Linked DNA regions of Homo sapiens: region 1 is linked to region 2. The links are contacts of gene promoters, found by promoter capture Hi-C in human tissues and cell types (Jung and others, 2019). All regions are on one chromosome and are shown on one strand. Each heading gives the region's core, a stretch centred on a gene start or on the middle of the fragment in contact. The rest is flanking DNA. Distances are from core to core; before and after follow the strand shown.

Region 1 (5,075 bases), core at 951-3,450, 760 kb after region 2:
TCACTTCTAAGTCTAGATAGAGATTATATTTATCCTATTTTGGATGCATGTGTTTCATGATTCTGCATTTTGTCTTTCATGAGATCTAGAAGTTTCTGAGCCCTGTATTCTTTAAATATTATGTCTCATTAGTCTCTTCTCTCCTGCTGGAACTTTAACTGGATATATATATACACTAAACTGTTTCCAGATCACTTATTCTTTATCTTTCATATTTTTTATCTCTTTGTTTCTCTTTACCAGAATTTACAGTGCTGGATAATTTCATAAGGCATATATTTTAGTTCACCAATTTTCTCTTCAACTGTGCCTAATATCCTCTGTAACCCATCCTGTCTCTTTTTTTTCTTTTAACAATTGCATTTTTAATTACTTTTTTTTTTTTTTTTTAAGATGGAGTCTCTCTCTGTCGCCCAGGCTGGAGTGCAGAGGCGCGATCTCAGCTCACTGCAAGCTCCGCCTCCCGGGTTCACGCCATTCTCCTGCCTCAGCCTCCCGAGTAGCTGGGACTACAGGCGCCCGCCACCACGCCCGGCTAATTTTTTTGTATTTTTAGTAGAGACGGGGTTTCACCGTGTTACCCAGGATGGTCTCGATCTCCTGACCTCGTCATCTGCTCACGTTGGCCTCCCAGAGTGCTGGGATTACAGGCATGAGCCACCATGCCCGGCCGCATTTTTAATTTCTAAAAGTTCTGCCTGGTTCTTTTTTGATATGTCCAGTCATTCTTCATGTTCTCATGTTATATGCTGATTTTTGTGACTCTATAGCTATTCTGTAGACTATATCAGACATTCCCAATGTCTGATATCCTTGAGGAGGGGGATGTCTAAATTTATTGCTTTTTTGTTTTTTTTTCTGTTGTCTCTCCTCAATGTAGCTGTCACCTCATGTGTTTGGTGATCATTGATTATGAACTTCTGTTTGATCTTTGTGGTGATCTTGAGAGTCTAATTTGAGGATGCTTGCTTTCTGAAAGCATTTCTATCAGCTTTGTCTGGGAGCCAGAAAGTTTAGCTGGCATCACTTTTGAGTTCCTACATTTTGCTTCTGGCCCAGGGCTCAGTGTCCTGATCCTATTACTGCTCTTGGCACCACTACTTGTAGCACTAAACTGTAGCCAGGTTTAATTTCTAGCTCAAGGTTTGTTGCTTTTGCGTGGAGAGGGTGCCTTCACATGTTCCCCTATTTCTATGAGCTCAGCAAAAACATCCAAAAAGTGTTTTTTTTTTTAATCTAGGATATACCTTTTTCCTCCCAACAGTACATTCCCCCAGAGTGTATAGTTGACCATAACTGATGGGATCAGAAGCTCTTTATTTTAATATTTAATTTTAGTAGTATATTTTTGTTTGATTGTATTATAAAAAATTTTATGGTACCAAGCAAGCTTTCTTGGTGATACCAACATTTCCATTAAAACTAGTTTACATCTAAGTTAAGATTTGAGTTATCCTAAAGAAAAGTATTAAGTAAATAGCAGTACAGATGGCAAATGGATTGCACAATATATCCTCTGGATCCATAGTGACCCTGCAGAGATAAACCTGTGATGGTCAAACAATGTGAAAACTGCTGTCAGAGACATGGGCAGGGTGCTCTTGTTTACAGAGAAGAGGTGCAAAAATCAACTTGATGGTAGTGGGAAGATCAGGAAATGCTTCCTGAAATTGAGTATTAAGAACTAATAGACATTAGGTGGTTGCAGAATAAGTTTTGTTTAGGAAGGACAAGCAGTTGGGTATGACTGGCTTCTAGGTTGTGTGTTGTGGAGTGACTGGGGATAAAAGCAGGAGCAAGATCACAAAAGGTCTTCTATGCTTATATTAGGGAAGTTGGACTTTATTCTCAAGCTGAAGGGAAGCTGTTGCATGGTTTTAAGCAGTAAAGTGATATGATCAGAGTTTTAGAGGATGCCAAGATTGAAGGCAAGTCTGACCAGTTAGGAGACTGCTTGTTAAATTAGTTCAGAGGAGAAACAGTGAAGGCAGTGGCACTGGGCATGAAGAAGTATATGTGTGCTAATTTTAGATTTCTTAGGGAAGCAGAAATGACAAGAGTTAGTGGTCCATTGGACAGAAATATTGAAGGAGACTGGGGAGTCTAGGTTGACTCCCAGGGTTTAGGTTTGGGCAGTAAAATGACATGTAGAACAATTAACTGATAAACAGCATACAGAAAGAGGAAAGAACTTCATTTCATATGTTTGTTTTTGAGGAAAAGATGTTTGTTTTTGAACTTCCTGATTCAGAGGGGCTTGTGGGACATCTTGGTTAAGATCCTGTAGTAGTTCTAGTAGGGTCTAGAAGTCAAGAGATACAACCCCGCCTGGAAGGATTTGGGAGTCTTCAGCATTTGGAATTTTGGAAGCCATTGTTTACTGCAGTGCATATGAGATAATTTAAACTGGTACATAGATAAACACTTGAAAAAATTTTAATAGATAGGAATTTAATGTGTATGAGAAACATAACTTGCACATCTAACCTTTGATAATCATGGACATTATCACTTAGGCCAAGTGAGCTCAATAAAAGGGAAATATTAACTAAAAATATATGTGATACATGGAAATGGCAAAAATCACGGTGAAGCTATGCAAACGATGCAAGTTCAGAAAGTGCTGTGTTAAGTCATGGGTGTGGTGGATAAATTCACCCAAGGAGAGAGTAAGAGTGAGAAGAAAAGAGAGTTGACATTGGGTGGCGGGGAATGGAGAAGAAGAACCCATGAAGGAAACTGAGGAAGAGCAGCCAGACGAATAGGAGGAAAACCAGGAGAAGATGGTCTTTGGAGTCCAAATGAAGAGTTCTGAGGAGGAAGTGGTCCACAGCGTCAAGTAAGTTGTAAGCTGAAAAGTGCTCTTTGGATTTAGCAATTAAGGTAGACTATTTAGCTGGAAGCATCCAAACAGTGGATTTTAAAAATACTCATCTAACATTAATGTTAATGATAGCTGGTATTTATAGCATTTCCCATATACCTGGTACTCTTCTAAGCTCTTTACATGTATTAACAGATTGATCAGGTAGGTAGTATCGTTATCCCCATTTGATATGCGAGGAAACACAGAGGAAGCACAGAGAGGTTAAGTAACTTGCCCAAGATCACACACCCAAGGAAACAAGAGAGCCAGGACTCAAGCCCAGAGTCTTGGCTGCAGAGTCCCTGTTCTTAACCACTTTGTCACATTGCCTCTCTAGTTAAAAACAAAATACAAGGCCGGGTGCGGTGGCTCACGCCTGTAATCCCAGCACTTTGGGAGGCCGAGGCGGGCGGATCACAAGGTCAGGAGTTCAAGACCAGCCTGGCCAATATGGTGAAATCCTGTCTCTACTAAAAATACAAAAATTAGCTGGGCGTGGTGGTGGGCACCTGTAGTCCCAGCTACTTGGGAGGCTGAGGCAGGAGAATCGCTTGAACCCGGGAAGTGGAGGTTGCAGTGAGCCGAGATCGTGCCAGTGCACTCCAGCCTGGGCGACAGAGTGAGACTGTGTCTCAAACAAACAAACAAACAAACCAAAACAAAATAGAAAATAAAATATACCCCAGTGTCGTAATTACAGTACAATTGGTGCTGTGTGTGTTATCAGTGAGATTCGCTAGGCTTGAATGACCAGTATCAGTCTGCCAGGTATGAGCACATTAATTGTATTGTAATTGATGCCATGATGTGTGGGCTGTGACAGTTCTTGGCTCTTTCTGTATTTTATGCCAAAAAAATTTGTAAGACAAGTGAGATTAGCATATACCTCATATTATGTGCTATAGTTTGGGTGCTCCAGTATCTTATGTTTTCTGGTCATTGTTCACTTTTAGAGTTAAATTTTTTAAACTCTAGAAATATTCATGCAGAATAGGTCAGGTTCTAGACATTATAGATAACCAGTCTTTTGTGGAAGGTCATTAATGATCCTAATGAAAGCAGTTTCCCTTGAATGGTCGAAGTGGAAACCAAATTGTTAGGAAACTGACAGTGAATGAGAATGGAGGATTCAGATGGGTGAAAAATGAAGAGTTCTTGATGAAGTTGAAGAATGGCTGTGGTAGGAAATCAGGAAGACATGAGCCGTAATGACTCTTGGCTATGGTCAGAGAGGAGCTAATAAAGATTTAAGAACTGGTTTCGACCCAGGTAGTGATCTGAGGTGTCCCCCTGGGGTGGGAGAGCCTAGTGAGGTAGGCAGTGAAGATCATGTTAGTTGAGGAGGTTGTTAAACTACAAGGCTAGGGTATTGTGTGCATGGACCTCGATGTGGCTGGGATGATGATAGAATTTGGAGGAAAGAGAAAAACACTGAACTAGTTGCCAGTGATCTTGAAACGTGACAGTAACCAAGAGATAAATAGGTGACAATGACAGGAAAATTAGATGTAGTAAAAGAGAGTGTTTGAGAGCAGAAGCTATGGCAACTAAAGACTGGATTTGAATCCTTCCTAGCTTGGTGACATGAGCAAATTACTTGATTTAAGTGAGCATTTTCCCATCTGTACAGTGGAGATAACGATAATTGTGCCTGCTAAGAAGAATTGCTGTGAAGATTAGTGAAATAATGCATGTAAAACATTTGGTACAGTATGTGACACATAGTACAAATAGTTTGCTAGGAAGATTGTTATTATTCTTCACTTGTGATATTGTGAAGTTTTCATACAGCAAATTGGACATCATGAGATGGATTGATTAAATAAATAGATTTGAACTTCAAGGACTGGTAGTGTTCTTGCTTTGGAAAGAAGAAACTTGGTTTATCCTAATAATAGTAGGATAATAATGGTGAAGTGATAGGTACAAGTAATAGTGTTTATGATGCGCTGGTGATGATAGGAAAAGAAAGCCATTATATGGGCAAGAGCTAGAAGTAATAAAATGGTGCATTTTTCAGTGATGTTTGGCCTATGTAGCTATTCTCTGATAACTATAAAAATCCTTATTATTGAAGATTCTTCAGGAAAAAAAACCCTTAGTCTGAAACTTTACCACCAATCCCCCTTGCCCCCCATTGAAATACGTATTTTTAAAACATGGCTTTTGATAATGTGAGGGTTTTTTCCTTTTTGCGATTTAGCAGTGC
Region 2 (5,038 bases), core at 647-3,146:
AAAAATACAAAAAATTAGCTGGGCGCAGTGGCGGGCGCCTGTAGTCCCAGCTACTCGGGAGGCTGAGGCAGGAGAATGGCGTGAACCCGGAAGGCGGAGCTTGCAGTGAGCCGAGATCATTCCACTGCACTCCAGCCTGGGCGACAGAGCGAGACTCGGTCTCCAAAAAAAAAAAAAGAAAAAAAAATCCATTCTCTTTTGTTTCTTTTTCCTTTTTGAGACGAGAGTCTCGCTCTGTTGCCCAGACTGAGTGCAGTGGTGAGAACATGGCTCATTACAGCCTCAGTCTCCCAGGGTCAAGTAGTCCTCCCCACCTCAGCCTCCCAAGTAGCTGGAACCACAGGCGTGCGCCCCCAAGCACAATTAATTTTTTTTTTTTTTTGAGATGGAGTTTCGCTCTTGTTGTCCCGGCTGGAGTGCAGTGGTGTGATCTTGGCTCACCGCAACCTCCACCTCCTGGGTTCAAGTGATTCTCCTGCCTCAGCCTCTCCAGTAGCTGGGATTACGGGCATGTGCCACCACACCCGGCTAATTTTGTATTTTTAGTAGAGATGGGGTTTCGCCATGTTGGTCAGGCTGGTCTCAAACACCCGACCTCAAGTGATCTGCCCGCCTTAGCCTCCCAAGGTGCTGGGATTACAGGTGTGAGCCACCACGCCCTGCCAGCTAATTCAATTTTTTTTTTGTAAAGATGAGGTCTCCTCGTGTTGCCCAGGCTCGTCTCGAACTCCTGGGTTCAAGAGACCCTCGCAATGTAGCCTCTCAAAGTGCTGAGATTACAGACATGAGCCACTGCACCCAGCCAATTTCTCTTTCTAAAAATAATTAATTTTTTTGAGACAGTCTCACTCTGTCGCCCAGGCTGGAGTACAGTGGCGCGATCTGGGCTCACTGCAACCTCCTTGTCCTGGGTTCACCCACTTCTCCTGCCTCAGCCCCCCGAGTAGCTGGGATTACAGGCGCCCACTAATATGCCCAGCTAATTTTTGTATTTTTAGTAGAGATGGGGTTTCACCATGTTGGCCAGGCTGGTCTTGAACCCCTATCAAGTGAACCCCCAACCTCGACCTCCCAATGTGTTGGGATTATAGGCATGAGCCACTGCACCGGCCTTATGCCTTTAGGACTCTTATTTATTTATTTTGAGACGGAGTTTCACTCTTGTTGCCCAGGGTGGAGTGCAATGGCGCAATCTCGGCTCATTGCAACCTCCGCCTCCTGGGTTCAAGCATTCTCCTGCTTCAGCCTTCCGAGTAGCTGGGATTACAGGCATGTACCACCACGCCCGGCTAATTTTGTATTTTTAGTAGAGATGGGATTTCTCCATGTTGGTCAGGCTGGTCTCGAACTCCCGAAGTCAGGTGATCCGCCCGCCCACCTCGGCCTCCCAAAGTGCTGGGATTACAAGCGTGAGCTACCGCGCCCGGCCCCAGAACTCTTTTTTTTTTTTTTAAATCATGAGTTAGATTGATAGTTTTCAGGGCAAATCCAAACAGTCTACATTAATTTCCGTCTTTATTTCGTTAAGGTTTCACATGGACACTGGTGGATATGGAATGGCTTTTTTCTGCGCAATTCACATCCGACCAGGTCAAGTGACTGGAGTTCACCGGTCTCGGGTATACCGCATCTCGCGCCAGGCTTCAAACTCTAGATCCCCGAGTCTCGAGCTCCAGCTGGGTGTCGAGACGGGTACGGGCCGGCCGCGCCTCGCGCATGCGCCCTAGGCCCGCAGGGCCCCGCGCTGGAAGCTCAGCTCCCACTGTACCCTGCTTTAACCAGTCAGGCAATTCATCTTCCCCAAGCTCCCAATTCGGCATTGCCTGGAGGCGGAAGTGGGTGGGAGGGGCCAGACGTGCGCCCCTCCCCGGAAGTGGGCGGTACCCATAGGGCTCCACAGTCGTTCCGCCACCTCCCAGTCGGGTTGCGGCGGAGGCCGTTCCTGGCTTTGTAGCTCGCTCAAGATGGCGGCGCAGCCACCCCGCGGGATACGCCTCAGCGCGGTGAGCAGCCGCGAGGGGTGGAGCGGGCCGTGTCCCAGGAGGGCGGGCGGGCAAGCGAAGGGGGGCCGGCAGTGGGCGGTGGCGGCTTGTGGGGCCGACGCGGCGGCGGGGGCTGCGGCGGGGCCCGGGGAGGGGGCGGCCATCTCGCTCCCGTCGGCGGAACAGCTCGGCTGCGGGCCGGGCTGCGTTCCGTCGCCTCTGCATTGTGTTTCTGTTTTGCTTCGGGGCGGGCCAGGGTCGCGGCTCCTCCTCCCAGCTCCCTCCTAGTCTCCCAGCAGCTGTCGTCCGCGGGCGAGGCCTCGGCGGGAGATCGGTCTGCTCTCGGGGCCGCGGGGCCCCTGACCCTCTTCTGTCCGCTGGGCGTCGTGGTGGGAGGGAGCGGGTTCCGCGTCCAGAAACGCCGGCGGCCTCGACGTCCCGGGGGCGGGGGGACGGGGCTGCGGGCCTGCCTGCGGGCGAGTGGAGTCAGGATGAGTGTGCCTGATGCCTGTCAGTGCCTGCAGCTTCCTTGGCAGTGGAAGCCTTGGGGCCCAGACCCTAGATCGCTGAGCTCGAGCTCTCCTCTTTATCCCGCGTTGCGTCTGTTTTGGGGCGTTTCGAGTTCTTGGAAACCCTGTGAACATTTCTTGTATCTTAAATCGTAGGGAGCGGTCACACAAGATAACTTGAAATCTCACGTCCAGGAAATGTGGGCGTGGCTTCCCCACCTGATTATCCTAAAAAACTTTTCTACCTTGTGAGCGCAGTTGATGTTATGCTGAAATGTTCCTCTTTTCTGGAGGTTGTTGACTTTTGCCAAAGAATGACTGCCCTAGTGCCACTAATTTTAACATTCGAATGGGTAGTGACTCCTTGGGGTACAAACACGTAGTGAATAATTGGTGCATTGCTCTGGGACTTTCATTCGTTTAGGCAGATTCTAACACCTGGTTTTGACGGACTTTAAATTTTTTCTAGTCCGATATTTGTGAAATGATATTTGCTTTTACTTGCGTTTCCTTGACTGTTTGTGTTGTTGAGCTCTTCGCATGTATTAGTCTTTGTGGTTTTTTGTTTTGTTTTTTTGAATTGCCTATTCATATCCTTTGACCATTTTCTGTTTTTCTTTTGGGAGGATCTTTATTGATTTGTAAGAGTTCTTTACGTATTCTGGATAAAGGTCCATCCTTTCGTTATGTAACTAGCTTATTGAGTGAGCTAGGCTTTAGTAGTTTGAAAATAGAGGACAATTTTATTCTTTTTTTCTTTTTTTTTTTTTTAACCACTGAGTGTAAACATTAATTATTCCCCACTTGTGTGAATCTGGGTTGACTAACGCTTTCCCATTAGCTTAAGGTATTGTAAAGTCTGGCCTTACCTAGTTTAAAATCTCTATTCTCTCTCCCTCCCTTTTCCCCCTCTCTTTCCCCTATCTCCTTTCCCCACTTCTCTCTCCTTCCTCTCTCGAGGTTGAGTCTTGTTCAGGCCCAGAAACCTGTAGTGGAGAAACGGAGTGAGTTGATTTCCTGTTTCTGTCCTTTGATTCTCTTCTCCCTTCCCGCCCCCAGGCCCTTGTAGACTCTGGCTCTTCAAGATTGAGGGGAGAAAGGAAGCAGAGATAATGGTCAGTGTTTAGAGACCAGCATTGTTAGCGGGCACTCTGGGTGTAGCTGCTGTCCATGTGCTGGGTCTTTGTTTTGTGGGTAATATGGGCTGTTGGGAACCTGACTGACAGAAATCTCCCATCTGCAGCCTCTTTGCTTTTGCTTTAGGTCAGGAGTTGGCAAACTACATACAGCTCATGGGCCAAATCCAGCCCAGCACCTGTTTTTGTGTGGCCTGAAGGCTAAGAGTGATTTATACATTTGTAAATGGTTGAGAAAAAAAGAAGAATGTTTAGTGACATAAAAATTATGCGAAATACAAATTTCAGTTTCCATAAAATTTTATTGGAATATAGCCAGAAACATTATTTGCTTATAGTTTTCAAATGCATGCGTTAAGAGATAAAAATTAATGAGCTTATGTATTTGTCAAAAGTCCTACATTTTAAGGCACAAAGGGTGAACCCTTAGTGTATACACTTTTTTATTTTATTTTATTTTTTTGAGGTAGAGTTTCACTCAGTCTCCAGGCTGGAGTGCAGTGGCACGATCTCGGCTCACTGCAGCCTCCACCTCCCGGATTCAAGCACTTCTTCTGCCTCAGCCTCCCGAGTAGCTGGGTTTACACGCGTGGGCCACCACACCCGGCTAATTTTGGTATTTTTAGTATATATAGAGTTTCACCATGTTGGCCAGGCTGGTCTCAAATTCCCAACCTCAGGTGATCCTCCTGCCTTGGCCTCCTAAAGCACTGCGATTACAGGCCTGAGCCACTGTGCCCGGCCCAATGTATACACATTTTAAACAGTCATTTAGGAGGTCGGAGATCCCAGGATGAAATGCAGAGTGACAAAAAGTTTTTAAATTTTTTGCTTTTTACCCCTGTAATTCTAGTGAAATGAAATGCATATACTTTGGTTTTTGTTGTTGATTTTTTTTTTCAGAAATGCTGCTGTGGATTTAGCTGATGCACACTCTTCACCACCTCCCATACTTCAATGCTTTTTTCACTTTTTTTGGTTGAATTACTATATGGTTTGTTATTACTCTTACAAATGAGCTAGCCAGGGTAGTATGATTGCATTTTCTTTCCTATACAAACCTTTTGTTTTCCCTGAAGTTAATTGATTTATATTTTGTTTTCTTAGTTTTTCTCTGTACTGATCATCCAGACATCCAGAGAACTGGGAGCTCTTTTCCAGATGGATTCAGACACACCCAGTGTTTTGTCATTTGGAAGTCAGTTGGGAGTCATCGGCTCAGTCGTAATTTGGGGACTTCCCTTTAACATCTGTCTGGAAATTTCCTTCCTCTTTTCATGTGTCTCCATCTCACATATCCTTCTGTCTGATATGTAGCTTAGTGACTGCCATTCTGAAGCCTACTCTCTCGGGTTCAAATCCTGACTCATAACCAGATGTATGTCCTTGGCCAAGTCATTTAACCTCTTTG

Evidence for each region. The method cuts DNA at HindIII sites, captures the fragments that hold promoters and counts their contacts. A contact is called where the count stands out against the background at its distance.
Region 1: a fragment that was not itself captured here is called in contact with the fragment with the promoter of MORC3 in region 2 in 1 of the 25 tissues and cell types used here (dorsolateral prefrontal cortex).

Annotation. Positions count from the first base shown.
Region 1 is chr21:37,081,493-37,086,567 of GRCh38, forward strand. All of the region lies in intron 1 of TTC3 (tetratricopeptide repeat domain 3), which reads left to right. Among named protein-coding and RNA genes, the nearest start is that of TTC3, 11 kb to the left of the region's middle. The HindIII fragment of the contact is 7,551 bases long and covers 1-5,075 here.
Region 2 is chr21:36,318,301-36,323,338 of GRCh38, forward strand. It overlaps MORC3 (MORC family CW-type zinc finger 3), which reads left to right and starts at 1,897. Exons shown (of 17, transcript NM_015358.3): 1 at 1,897-2,003. The coding sequence starts at 1,965. RefSeq lists a silencer at 2,021-2,480. The HindIII fragment of the contact is 28,282 bases long and covers 1-5,038 here.